Regions from separate parts of the Homo sapiens genome. Here region 1 is linked to region 2. The links are contacts of gene promoters, found by promoter capture Hi-C in blood cells and fetal thymus (Javierre and others, 2016). All regions are on one chromosome and are shown on one strand. Each heading gives the region's core, a stretch centred on a gene start or on the middle of the fragment in contact. The rest is flanking DNA. Distances are from core to core; before and after follow the strand shown.

Region 1 (5,897 bases), core at 2,203-4,702, 430 kb after region 2:
CTGTTTTCAGCTCATCTCTAGCCATTCCTAGTGCCTCTCCTCTGTGACCTCAATCAGTGTCCTGCGCATATCTCTGTTCTCTGCTCACCACATTGCATAATTAGAGCTATTTCTGTGTCTCTGTCTCTCCCATTGGACTGTGAAGCTGAGGACCATGTCTTTTATATTTATCTCCAGACCAGTCTCACACATTGTGGAAGCTCGATAAATATTTGTAGACAAGAACTACTCATCAATTCAGTTGTTCTCTAGAACTTCTTTTCTTACCATGTTTTTTCTTGAGGTATCAAAACTAGAATAAGAAACAGGTTTTTGTTTTTGTTTTTTGAGACAGAGTCCTGTTCTGTCGCCCAGGCTGGAATGCAATGACACGATCTCAGCTCACTGCAACCTCTGCCTCCTGGGTTCAAGTGATTCTCATGCCTCAGCCTCCTAAGTAGCTGGGATTACAGGCGTGAGCCACCATGCCCAGCTAATTTTGTGTTTTAGTAGAGATGAGGGTTTCACCATGTTGGCTACACTGGTCTCAAACTCCTGACCTCAGGCGATCCACCAGCCTTGGCCTCCCAAGGTGCTGGGATTACAGGTGTGAGCCACTGCATCCAGCCAAGAAACAGTTTTCTAGATAGATCCACCATAGGTTTGTCCAAGTGTAGCACTTTTTTTTTTCTTTTGTATTTCTTTTCTCTCTTCTATTATCCAATATTCTACTAGCTTTTTTTTTGGCTATAGCTACACCCCCCCCGCTTTTTTTTGCATTATTACTGAGAACTCAAAACTCACACTCTAATAGGTATAATTTGTATTATTAAATGCCTAAATTAATGTCATTATTGCTCACACTGAAGTTCAACTGCTTACTAGGCAGTATAAACAAAGCTCATTTAGGGATATTTACCTATGTAAGAAAAAAAATACCTTCCCTTTTTTTTTTTTGAGACAGAGTCTTGCTCTGTCACCCAGGCTGGAGTGCAGTGGCATGATCTTGGCTCACTGCAACCTCCGCCTCCTGGGTTCAAGTGATCCTCCTGCCTCATCTGCCCAAGTAGCTGGGACTACAGGGATGTGTCACCATGTTTGGCTAATTTTTGTATTTTTGGTAGAGATGGGGTTTTGCCATCTTGGCCAGGCTGGTCTTGGACTCCTGACCTCAAGTGATCCCCCTGCCTCTGTCTCCCAAAGTGCTGGGATTACAGGTGGGAGCCACCACGCCTGCCCTTCTATTCTCTTTAGAATAATACATTTACAAGTTATCTAATGGCCATGTATGGGAGGCCAGCAGGATTATAGCATCACATTTGATTGCTAATTATAAACAACCATTTATTAAATACCTACCTCTCTACAATGCTTTAACAATTCCTTTTCGAACTACTCTATGTCAGGCTTTTTACTGATTGTAGTTTCTTTCTTCCTCTTTATGTTTTTACCTACCCAGAATACATTATCTTCTTTTGGTAACAATACCTCCAGTTTCCTTTAGGGAAACATTGTGGTACACAGAGGCTAGAGAACTGCAGAACAAGCTGAGGAATCCAGTGGCCTACCAGTGCCCTCAACCAATGATAATGGTTAGCTGGGAGCAGCTAACTCTAGACCCCTTGAGCTTGAAGTGACGGTGAATCTGGTTTTGACTTTGGCTAACCTCTCTCCAAGCCTCCTGTCATTGGACATCTCATATCCAAGAGACACGATTAATTGGCAGAGTTAAGCAGGCTTCCTTGCTATTGATTGGGTTGGAGCTGGTAATCCTTCATATTTTTTTCATTTCCCTTTCTTTTTTTTTTTAGATGGAAAGGCTAAATAAATCATTTTGAATTGTACTGTGATTTATAAATTGCAGCAGAATGTGGTGAATAAACTGTGACAGCTCATTTCTCATCTACCTTGTTTGTGCTAAATGTACTTCTTGATGTCAGAGGATGTGATGGAAGCAAATCAGGAGGGAGGAGCAGGCATTTTAGAAACAACGCCATCTTACTGGGTGGCACCCACCCTGGCTGAGTCATCTCTGAAGCATGTCGATGTGTGCATGTGCCCCATCCCCTCTGCACATGAAAATTCATAACCATGAGACAGGACTAGCAGATATCTAATGAAAAGGGGGTTCACAATGGCCAGATGCTAACATTGGTAAACCTGAGATGAATGGACAGGTTAGGTGGGTGAGACCGCAGTTTGGTAAACACAATGTTGGTATTCTCATTAGAAAACTGGTGGGAATCAAAGGTGAGACGGAGCCATAGCATCAGATGTTTTTGCCTTTATAGTATGTGTAATCTTTGTTTCCAATGATAACATTTCCACTTTCTTTTAGGGAACTACCCTGCCAAGTTTTTGTTCTAGGTGGTTTAGATAGAGTTTAACCCACCCTTTGGCTCCATGGGTAGAGACAGGAACTAGCCTGGGCTATTGGGTGTTTTATCTCCTGTCCATGTGATTGATTTAGGGTGAACAAGTGACCAAAGATGAGCCAATCAGCATCAGTTCTTGGACTTTGGCAGGAAAGAGCAGCTTTCTTTTCACTGGTTGGTTAAACTGGCAGAACGTCACTTTAGACATGCTGCTATCAAGCTTGTCACTGTCTAGGAAGCCCACCTGAGGATGAAATTCACACAAAGGAAGGCAGGCTGAGGAAGAGAGACAGAATCCTGTGACACATTTTGGGCACCCAGATCCAGTTGTGCCTAAAGCCAGGGCTACAGTCTGGACTTTTCATTACATGAGTGAATAAATCTTTATCTTCTTTTTTCTTTTTTTTTGCTTCCTTTTTTTCCTTTTAACTTGTTTTTGTTTTTTATTATTTTTATTTAAAAAAAAATCTTTTATTTTTAATTAGTTTCTTGAGAAGGGGTCTCACTCTTGTCGCCCAGGCTGGAGTCCAGTAGCGTCAACATGGCTCACTGCAGCCTCAACTTCCCGTCTCAGTCTCCCAAGTAGCTGAGATTACAGGCTCACACCACCATGTCCAGCTAATTTTTGTTTGTTTTTGTTTTTTTTTTTTTTGAGATGGAGTCTCACTCAGTTGCCCAGGCTGGAGTGCAGTGGCCCAATCTTGGCTCACTGCAACCTCCGCCTCCCCGGTTCAAGTGATTCTCCTGCTCAGCCTCCCAAGTAGCTGGGACTACAGGCACCTGCTACCACGCCCGGCTAATTTTTTGTATTTTTAGTGGAGACAGGGTTTGACCGTGTTAGCCAGGATGGTCTCAATCTCCTGACCTCGTGATCTGCCCACCTCGGCCTCCCAAAGTGTTGGGATTACAGGCGTGAGCCACCGCACCCGGTCCCTAGCTAATTTTTAAAAATTTTTTGTACAGACGTGGTCTCCTATGTTGCTAAGGCTGGTCTTGAACTTCTGGCCTCAAGCAGTCCTCCTGCCTTGGCCTCCCAAAGTGCCGGAATTACAGGTGTGAGCCACTGTGCCTGGCCACATGAGTGAATAAACTATCTTTTTTTGATTAAGCCAATTTGAGTTGAGTTGCTATCACTTACTGCAAAGAGTCCCAATACAGGAATCTTCTGAGGTTGTAAGAAATAAGTGAGCCTGTTTACCAGAGTTGTCTGAGTGCATCTAATAGCCAGGGGGCTACAATAACGACACCATCATTTATTGCTGGATTTTGTGCTAATTATTTAAATATGTCATCTCATGTAATCCTGGTAACATCTTGTGAGTTATTATTGCCCATTTAAGAGACAAATAAATTACAGCTGAAATAGGTTAAGAACCTTTCTCAGGTTTACAAAGCTAGTGTTTACATAGGAATTGACTGCAGGCTGCTGTCTCCAAAGTTTATACCATGGTTAACTGGCATGGTATAACTTCCGTATGTTAGTCAGGGCTTAGTTGCAAACAAAGTAGTATACTCTGATTAGTTTAAGCTGACCAGAAGTTATATAAGCAGGAATATATCCACCCACACTGCAATGCTCCTCTAGAGAAACCCCAGTCTCACAGCCACAGCAGTTGACACCACTGATGCTTGGGACTGGGTGCCAGACATGCCGCCTCTGCTGCTGTTGAAGATCAGTCCGTGTCCACTAATATGCCCATCAGAAGACGATTCTGGGAATGCCAACTTCTTCCCTTATCTCTTGGAATACCAACTGCACGTGGGTGCATCTGATTGGCAGAGGCCAGGCCACATACTTGTGCTCTAGCAGCAAGGGAGCCTAGGAAAATGAGTTTTGCCTTCTATCTTTTGAATCAAGAGGCTCAGTGGCCACAATCTGACAACCATCCAACATCTTTGATTCTAGAAATCTTAATCTTGATTCTATTAATGTTAGACTCTAAACTGTGGTTTGACTGCAAACATTTTAAGCTTTAAGAACCTCTAGAAATGTCATGTTCAGACCAAACCAAGTTGGATTCTCATACTTCAGGGTACACAGAATCACCTGGGCAGCTTGCCCAAAATAGACGGCCCAACCATCTATTGGGCCCAACCCCAAACCTATAGATGGAATCAAAACTTCTGATTGGCTGGGCATGGTGGCTCACACCTGTAATTCCAGCACTTTGGGAGGCTGAGGTGGGCAGATCACTTAAGACCAGGAGTTTGAGACTAGCCTGGCAAACATGGTGAAAACCCCGTCTTTACTCACAGACAATAGCCTGGTGTGGTGGTGCATGCCTGTAGTCCCAGCTACTCAGGAGGCTGAGGCAGGAGAATCGCTTGAGCCTGGGAGGCAGAAGTTGCAGTGAGCCAAGATGTGTACCACTGCACTCCAGTCTGGGCAACAGAATGAGACTCTGTCTCCAAAAAAACAAAACAAAACAAAATCCTCTGGAAGGTTAGGGCATCTATGTTTGTAATAAGCTCCCAGGGGATTCTGATTCACATCAAAGTTGGAAAGACATCGATTTTGCTGACTAAATTGGTCATCATTTTTGTTCAACTATCACCTTCCATTCACCTAAGCCTAGATATTACTCAGTTCTGGTAAATACTCAATAAAGATGCAGCCCCACTGTGTGTTCACATAAGCTCACTGGAAAGACTATAAATGTGATTTTAAAAAGCTCTTTATGATTTGCTGGTAGAAAGAAATATTCTGAAACCATCTTTTCATGTCATTTTCTTAGAGGCAACACAGTATAATGGATTGATTAGCATCTTACAAACTGACAGGTTAAAAGATAGTTTTAAATCTTTATTGATAAACTGTCATTTGACTGCAAGCATTTTAAACTTTAAGAATCTCTGTTTTCAAATATGACAATTTTATTAAGCAATATACAAGGCTGTTAGGGAAAAACACTAATTTAAATTCAGTTAAAATGAATACTAAAGAATAAGCACAATTTCTAGATTTATTTGCTGGTCAATATTAAGTTAATTATGTCTGTACCTGTTATAAAAATTAGCAATCTTAGGCTGATGATAAATTGCTTTTGTTAAGTGTGTAGTGTGAATTAGGTATTATAGTATTATTTATCCTTAGGTTAGCAAAATGTGTTGCTTTCAGCCATTACCTAAAAAGACAAAAATCATCATATTATATACATAAGCAACTTCATTTGTTGTTTTGTACCTAGTGATAAAAAAGGAACAAGTTTATTTTCATCTCAGAGCTCTGATTGTATGAAGATAAAACTAGGACTAAATACTTTATCATATAGCCTGTTTGGCCAACATTACCCCATCATAAAGAAAACAAATGGAAGTGCTTTAAAGGGCAGGACAGCGGTAAGTAATCAGAGATATGAAAATGAACTTTGAAATACTTTTCAATATTCTTGAATAGGTTCTCGAAATTTGTCTAGATCTCAAAACAATGATGCACCCTTGTAGCTTTTATTGTCTTTCCTACCTAGTTCTGCAGAATTTTATTGCTTTCTTTTTTTCTCTTTTAGAGATGGGGTCTCTCTGTCTCCCTGGCTGGAGTGCAGT
Region 2 (5,998 bases), core at 2,212-4,711:
ATCTATTCTTTTAAGATGTTAATAATTTGAAAGAAAGCACAAGAATAATAGCAAGTAACTTGCCACGTGCACCTTGCATACGTGATTTCACATAATTCTCACAATTCCCTATGAGATAAGTACTCATCATGAGTTAAGTCCCCATTTTATAAAGAAGAAAATTAAGGCTTAGAAAAGATAAACATCACATCTAAGGTCACACAGCCTACAAGAAAACAACAGCTGTAACAGTAAATTATAGGTAAATGTCGGGGTAAATTATTTTAGCACTTTATCAAGAATTACTAAATTCAACAGAAAGAAATAGGCCCCTCACTACTAAGTTTGCCCTGGCTACAAAAGTCTACCTAATATTCTATTGTAAATTATTTTCTCTAATGCCAAAAAAGGCATAATTCCTTTTTAAGATAAGACTAGTTCTCTTTCATAAAAGAGAAAGCTATTTTCTAAAGAAGTTAACATCTTTATGATATGTACTTAAGAGTTAGTTGGCCTCTTGCTATTCTACTAGCCTGCTCAGTTCCAGTTGTTCAGGAAGTAATTTATCTCGTGAAAATTGTGAAACACTACAGAAAATCCTTGAGTTATACTGATTGGACAAAATGAAAATTGTGGCACTCTCTTTTGCTGCCAATGTTAAAAGAGTAGTATAGGGCTAAAAAAATTAATTCCAAAGTCTTCCCAACAGACATATAAACACTTCAGAAAAGGAAAATGAGGGCTGTAAAGCTGAAGAGCAATGAGAACTGCCTTCTCAAAGATTCCAGGATGTGTGCATAACCAGCTCGGCTACTGCATTCTTTTTGAGACAGAATCTTGCCTGTCACCCACCCAGGCTGGAGCGCAGTGGTGCAATCTCGGCTCAGGGCAATCTCTGCCTTCTGGGTTCAAGTGATTCTCATGCCTCAGCCTCCCAAGTACCTGGGATTACAGGCATGCACCACCACACCCAGCTAATTTTTATATTTTTAGTAGAGATGGTGTTTCGCCATGTTGGCCAGGCTGGTCTTGAACTCCTGACCTCAAGTGATTCTCCCGCCTTAGCCTCCCAAAGTGCTGAAATTACAGGCGTGGGCCACCGCACCTGGCCTCAGCTATTGCATTCTCACAGGAATCCAATACCAAGCTGCACGTACCAGAAGACCCTCACTGAATTCTTGAACTCATTAAGCTCATCCTCTACCCATGACCTTATGCTGTTCTTTCTTCCAGCTGCAATGTTATTTCTTTAGTCTTTATGAGGCTAGCTTCAGGTAGTCCATCATCAGTTCTCACCTCAGGCTGTCACTTCCTTGGAAAGGTCTTCCCTCTTTCTCTAAAAGGGCACACCTCATCCTTTTCTGTCACACCATCCTATCTGATTTTCCTTATATTATGGACCACCATCTGAACATACCTTCTTTGTTCTTTTTTTCCATGTTCATGATCCCCACAATTATGTCAGCTCTATGAGGCTAAGGATCTCATCTTTCCTATTTATCTTTCTATCTTCAATACCTAACTCAGAGTAGGGACATAACATATGTTAAAGACTGCATGTGGCTAATGATAAATATGGAAGAATGGGGTGAAAATGAAAGATTCCATTTAGTTCATTCCAAACGTTCTCCTTCATGCTCAATGAGAATAAGAAATAATAGTTTATGACCCATGACAATGAAAACAAATTTTTTTGTAGAATATGTATCTCCCCCATCACACCCTCAGTGCTATTAAGTCCAAGCATCCTGCTGCAGTAGGAGCCAAATCAATTATAAACAGACTGGAAAATTTATAGAGCAAACAACTTTTATTATCCAGGGTATAAAAGAGTTTGATAGCTGAGCCAAAGAAATTTCCACCTGCGCCTTCATTGATTTCAGATCCACTTCCGGTACCATATCCTAGAGGTGGAAAAAGAAACCCAAGAAAGAACGCCTATTTGATGGCTGAGCATACAACAGTGAATGTGAAGAGAACGTTTAAATCAAATCTCTAAAGTTGGAGGACAGAAAAAGTTGAAGACTCTAAACTCAATCTGCATTTGGACACAATTCCAAATCGTATAAAAAGAATGCTTCAGGCCAGGCACGGTGGCTCACGACTGTAATCCCAGCATTTTCGGAGGCCGAGGCGGGCAGATCACTTGAGGTCAGGAGTTCGAGAACAGCCTGGACAACAGGGCGAAACCCCATCTCTACTAAAAATACAAAAAATTAGCCGGGTGTAGTGGCAGGCACCTGTGATCCCAGCTACTCGGGAGGCTGAGACAGGAGAATCGCTTGAACCCGGGAGGTGGAGGTTGCAGTGAGCCGAGGTCACGCCACTGCACTCCAGCCTGGGCGACAGAGCGAGAGAAAAGAATGCTTCCAACATCAAAAGTAACCATCACCACTGCTTATATAAAATAATCCTCCTAAACCTGGCCCTCAAAACTGGAAAACGTTTGTCAAACATCTGACAATTCATGTTACTTCCTGCTATTACAACTAATTGAATTGAATCACACAAGAAGCAGTAGTGCATAATATCCTAATGGTAAGTGGATTAAACACATTGACTCTAACACCGAAAACCAGCACTGCTTAATAATGTACTGAGCCAACTTTCAAATAAAATTCATTTTTATTGCTTTGCAATAGGTGAAATAAATCTGATCTCCCATAACTTGCACTTGATTGAGAGCTCATAGTTCAATGTGCGATAAATGAAACTCACTCAGGACCAAGTTTTGGTCTCCCCAAGACCCCCATGGACAAAGCAACCTAGGTGAATCATTAAGGCGGTAAACGAGCACGCGCTGGAGACTGTCCTGCAGCACAGCACCTCGGGTTGACTGCCTCTCCTTCTGGGAGAGAGTGGGCAGCAGGATTACGCCTCGGCTGACAGGACGCCTCGTCTGGGGCAAAACGTTCGGTGCAAGGCTCCGGGCCAACCGTCCCATGCTGCTGGGGGAGGACTGGGTTCCGGCGAGCACCAGCTGCAGGACACCCCCACAGCCGTCCCCAGGCAGAATTAGAGTCGGGGTCGCAGGCAGAGCGAAGCCTGACAGCCTGGGAGATGAGGCCCCTCCCACCGGATCCGCCACCATGGCCAGGGAGGAGTGGAGAGATATCCTGGGCAGAGGCTAGTGAGGCCGGGGTCCTGCCGGGGCGCCCGAGGAGAATCCCAGCCCCATCGCCCCGGCCCGGTTCCTGCCCATCACCTCACCTCAGCTGGCACCGGCAAGTTCTCTGCCGCCGCCTTCAGCTCCAATACCGAGTCCGTCTGCCTGTCGGTCAGCGGCGCCGTCGTGTCCGGTCTCCGATCCCAGAGAGCCAGCTTTTCCCTAGCGTCCCGCTCCGCCGCCGCCTCAGGCAGCAGCAACAGCGCCGCCTCCGCCATCGCCGCCGCCCTCGCGGCCTTCAGCAGCAGCGAGATGGAGGGGACCCCGACAGAGAGACCTGGGCCACTTCCGGGAGAACCGGAGCTTCCAACACTGCACCGGCGGCGGGGCGGGACGGAATGCCCTGACCCCGGAAACGGTTCCGCAGTGTGGGGGGCGGGACCGAGGCCAGTACCGACGTGGCTTTAAATGGGTACGACTATTTCCGGTTGAAACGTAGAAGGTGGAGAAGACAGGACCCAATGGAAATAGAAATGCCCCTACCGGAAGTCTTTTCCTCAACATCAATAACTTTATTGTTACGTGTTGTACAGATTATTGACAACTGCGCTAAATCACCCTGCCGGCAGGAGACTTGGATCTACACCTCTCTGCTTACAGCTGGGTAGTCTGGGTAGAATGTGTGGAGTGTATGATTTCCATGTTGGCATGTTGACAATTTATGCCTCTTGGATCAAAACCAAAAGCATAAACTTTTCCAACATCCAGTAATTCCCCTACTAGAAAACTAATTTACGGAAACACATAAAAAATTCAAAGATGTGTGTATCTCAGACATCATTAATGGTATCAAATAACTGGAGACAACCTAAATGTCCAACATTGAAGAACTGGATCAAGAATTTGTGGCACAGACCAGGCGCGGGGGCTCAGGCCTGTAATCTCAGCACTTTGGGAGACCGAGGTGGGCGTATCACCTGAGGTCAGGAGTTTGAGACCAGACTGGCCAACATGGTTGAACCCCGTCTCTACTAAAAGCACAAAAATTAGCCAGGCGTGGTGGCACATGCCAGTAATCAGCCTGAGAGGCTGAGGCAGGAGAATCTCCTGAACCTGGAAGGTGGACGTTGCAGTGAGCAGAGATCTTGCCACTGCATTCCGGCCTGGGCATCAAGTGAGACTGTCTCAAAATGTATAATAATAATAATTTGTGGTACAGACATGTAATTCTACTCTACCATTTAAATCATATTGTAGATTTGAGCAACAAAATAAATAATGATAGTATTGGATCATAATTTACAGAATAAAATAAATACCCATGAGTCCATACTGCTATAAATAAACGATTGAATAAATAAATGGTGGAGAACAGACAATCTTCTACAAGTTATGGAGGCCTCTTCCTGCTCCTCCCTGGAGTCAAGGCAGGTGGAAACAGCTTCGTAGCAATTTTGACCATTGTCTGGGTAAAGTCTGAAGGCTTTATTCAGGCTTTATAGCACAAATCAGTGCCTGGCTATGTTCCCAAATGAAGGCTCTGATCTTTTAAGAGCAGAATTTGAGACCGGGCGCAGTGGCTCACACCTGTAATCCCAGCACTCTGGGAAGCCGAGGTGGGCGGATTACCTGAGGTCGGGAGTTCGAGACCAGCCTGATCAACATGGAGAAATCCCGTCTCTACTAAAAATACAAAAAAACTTAGCTGCGCGTGGAGGTGCATGCCTGTAATCCCAGCTACTCGGGAGGCTGAGGCAGGAGAATCGCTTGAACCCAGGAGGCGGAGGTTGCTGTGAGCCAACGTTGCACCATTGCACTCCAGCCTGGGCAACAAGAGCTAAACTCTGTCTCAAAAAAAAAAAGAATAGAATTTGAAGTTGGAAGAGAATTTTAAAATCATATAATCAAGCCCTTTCTGTCTACAGAGGAGCAAACTACAACCCGTAGAGGTGAAGCAAGCAGCCTAACATCCTGCAATCAGGTGGTTAACATCAGCGTCACCACTGGAACTTAGATATCCTGACTGTGTCTGACACCCTTTATATACCACAGCTTCTCCAAGTTGCCTGCTGTACAAAGCCCTTAAAAAATCTGCAGATCCCCAATGTTGATGTAAATAATTGTATTATATTGCTTAAGTATGAACAAAAATAAGACTTGACATAAGCTTTGGATGTTTATACCAAAATAGACATGCAAGTTACATGCCAACAGAAATATAACTAACATATAACGGTATATAACCAATAACATTCACATTAACAACTCAAGTGAGATGTGGGATATTATTTTGCTGGAAAACGAAATTGCTTCTGGCAACACGAAGACAGTCCTGACTACTGCTATACAGCTGCTTGGGAGTTCATCACACTTCTGTTATACCAGCAGCATGCTGTGTTCCCCACCATTTGAACTACTGGGAACACTTGACTCAGGGTAAATCCCTAATACCATTTTTCCTTTATCTGGCTTGTATATATCATTTGCATATTAAAACAACCCTGCTGTTTTTAGTAGCTTTATTAAAAATATTCTATATGCACAAACAAGGAGGGTGGAAGCTGAAATCATGTGGTAATCCTAAACTATAAAACTGTCATGTTGGTGATCCAGAATATGCATGAATATAGTTTTAAGAGTTGAAATGAGGCTGGGTGTGGTTGCTCACGCCTGTAATCCCAGCACTTTGGAAGGCTGAGGCGGGCGGATCATGGGGTCAGGAGATCGAGACCATCCTGGCTAACATGGTAAAACCCAGTCTCTACTAAAAATACCAAAAATTAGCCGGGCGTGGTGGCAGGCACCTGTAGTCCCAGCTACTCGGGAGGCTGAGGAAGGAGAATGGCATGAACCCGGGAGGCGGATCTTGCAGTGAGCTGAGATTGTGCCACTATACTCCAGGCTGGGCAACAG

Evidence for each region. The method cuts DNA at HindIII sites, captures the fragments that hold promoters and counts their contacts. A CHiCAGO score of 5 or more calls a contact.
Region 1: a fragment that was not itself captured here is called in contact with the fragment with the promoter of COG3 in region 2 in 1 of 17 cell types (total CD8 T cells); the score reaches 5.4 in total CD8 T cells.

What each region holds. Positions count from the first base shown.
Region 1 is chr13:45,036,917-45,042,813 of GRCh38, reverse strand. It overlaps a transcript of GPALPP1 not described here. Among named protein-coding and RNA genes, the nearest start is that of GPALPP1, 50 kb to the right of the region's middle. The HindIII fragment of the contact is 1,751 bases long and covers 2,577-4,327 here.
Region 2 is chr13:45,462,402-45,468,399 of GRCh38, reverse strand. It overlaps COG3 (component of oligomeric golgi complex 3), which reads right to left and starts at 3,461. Exons shown (of 23, transcript NM_031431.4): 1 at 3,190-3,461. The coding sequence starts at 3,363. The HindIII fragment of the contact is 5,472 bases long and covers 1-5,254 here.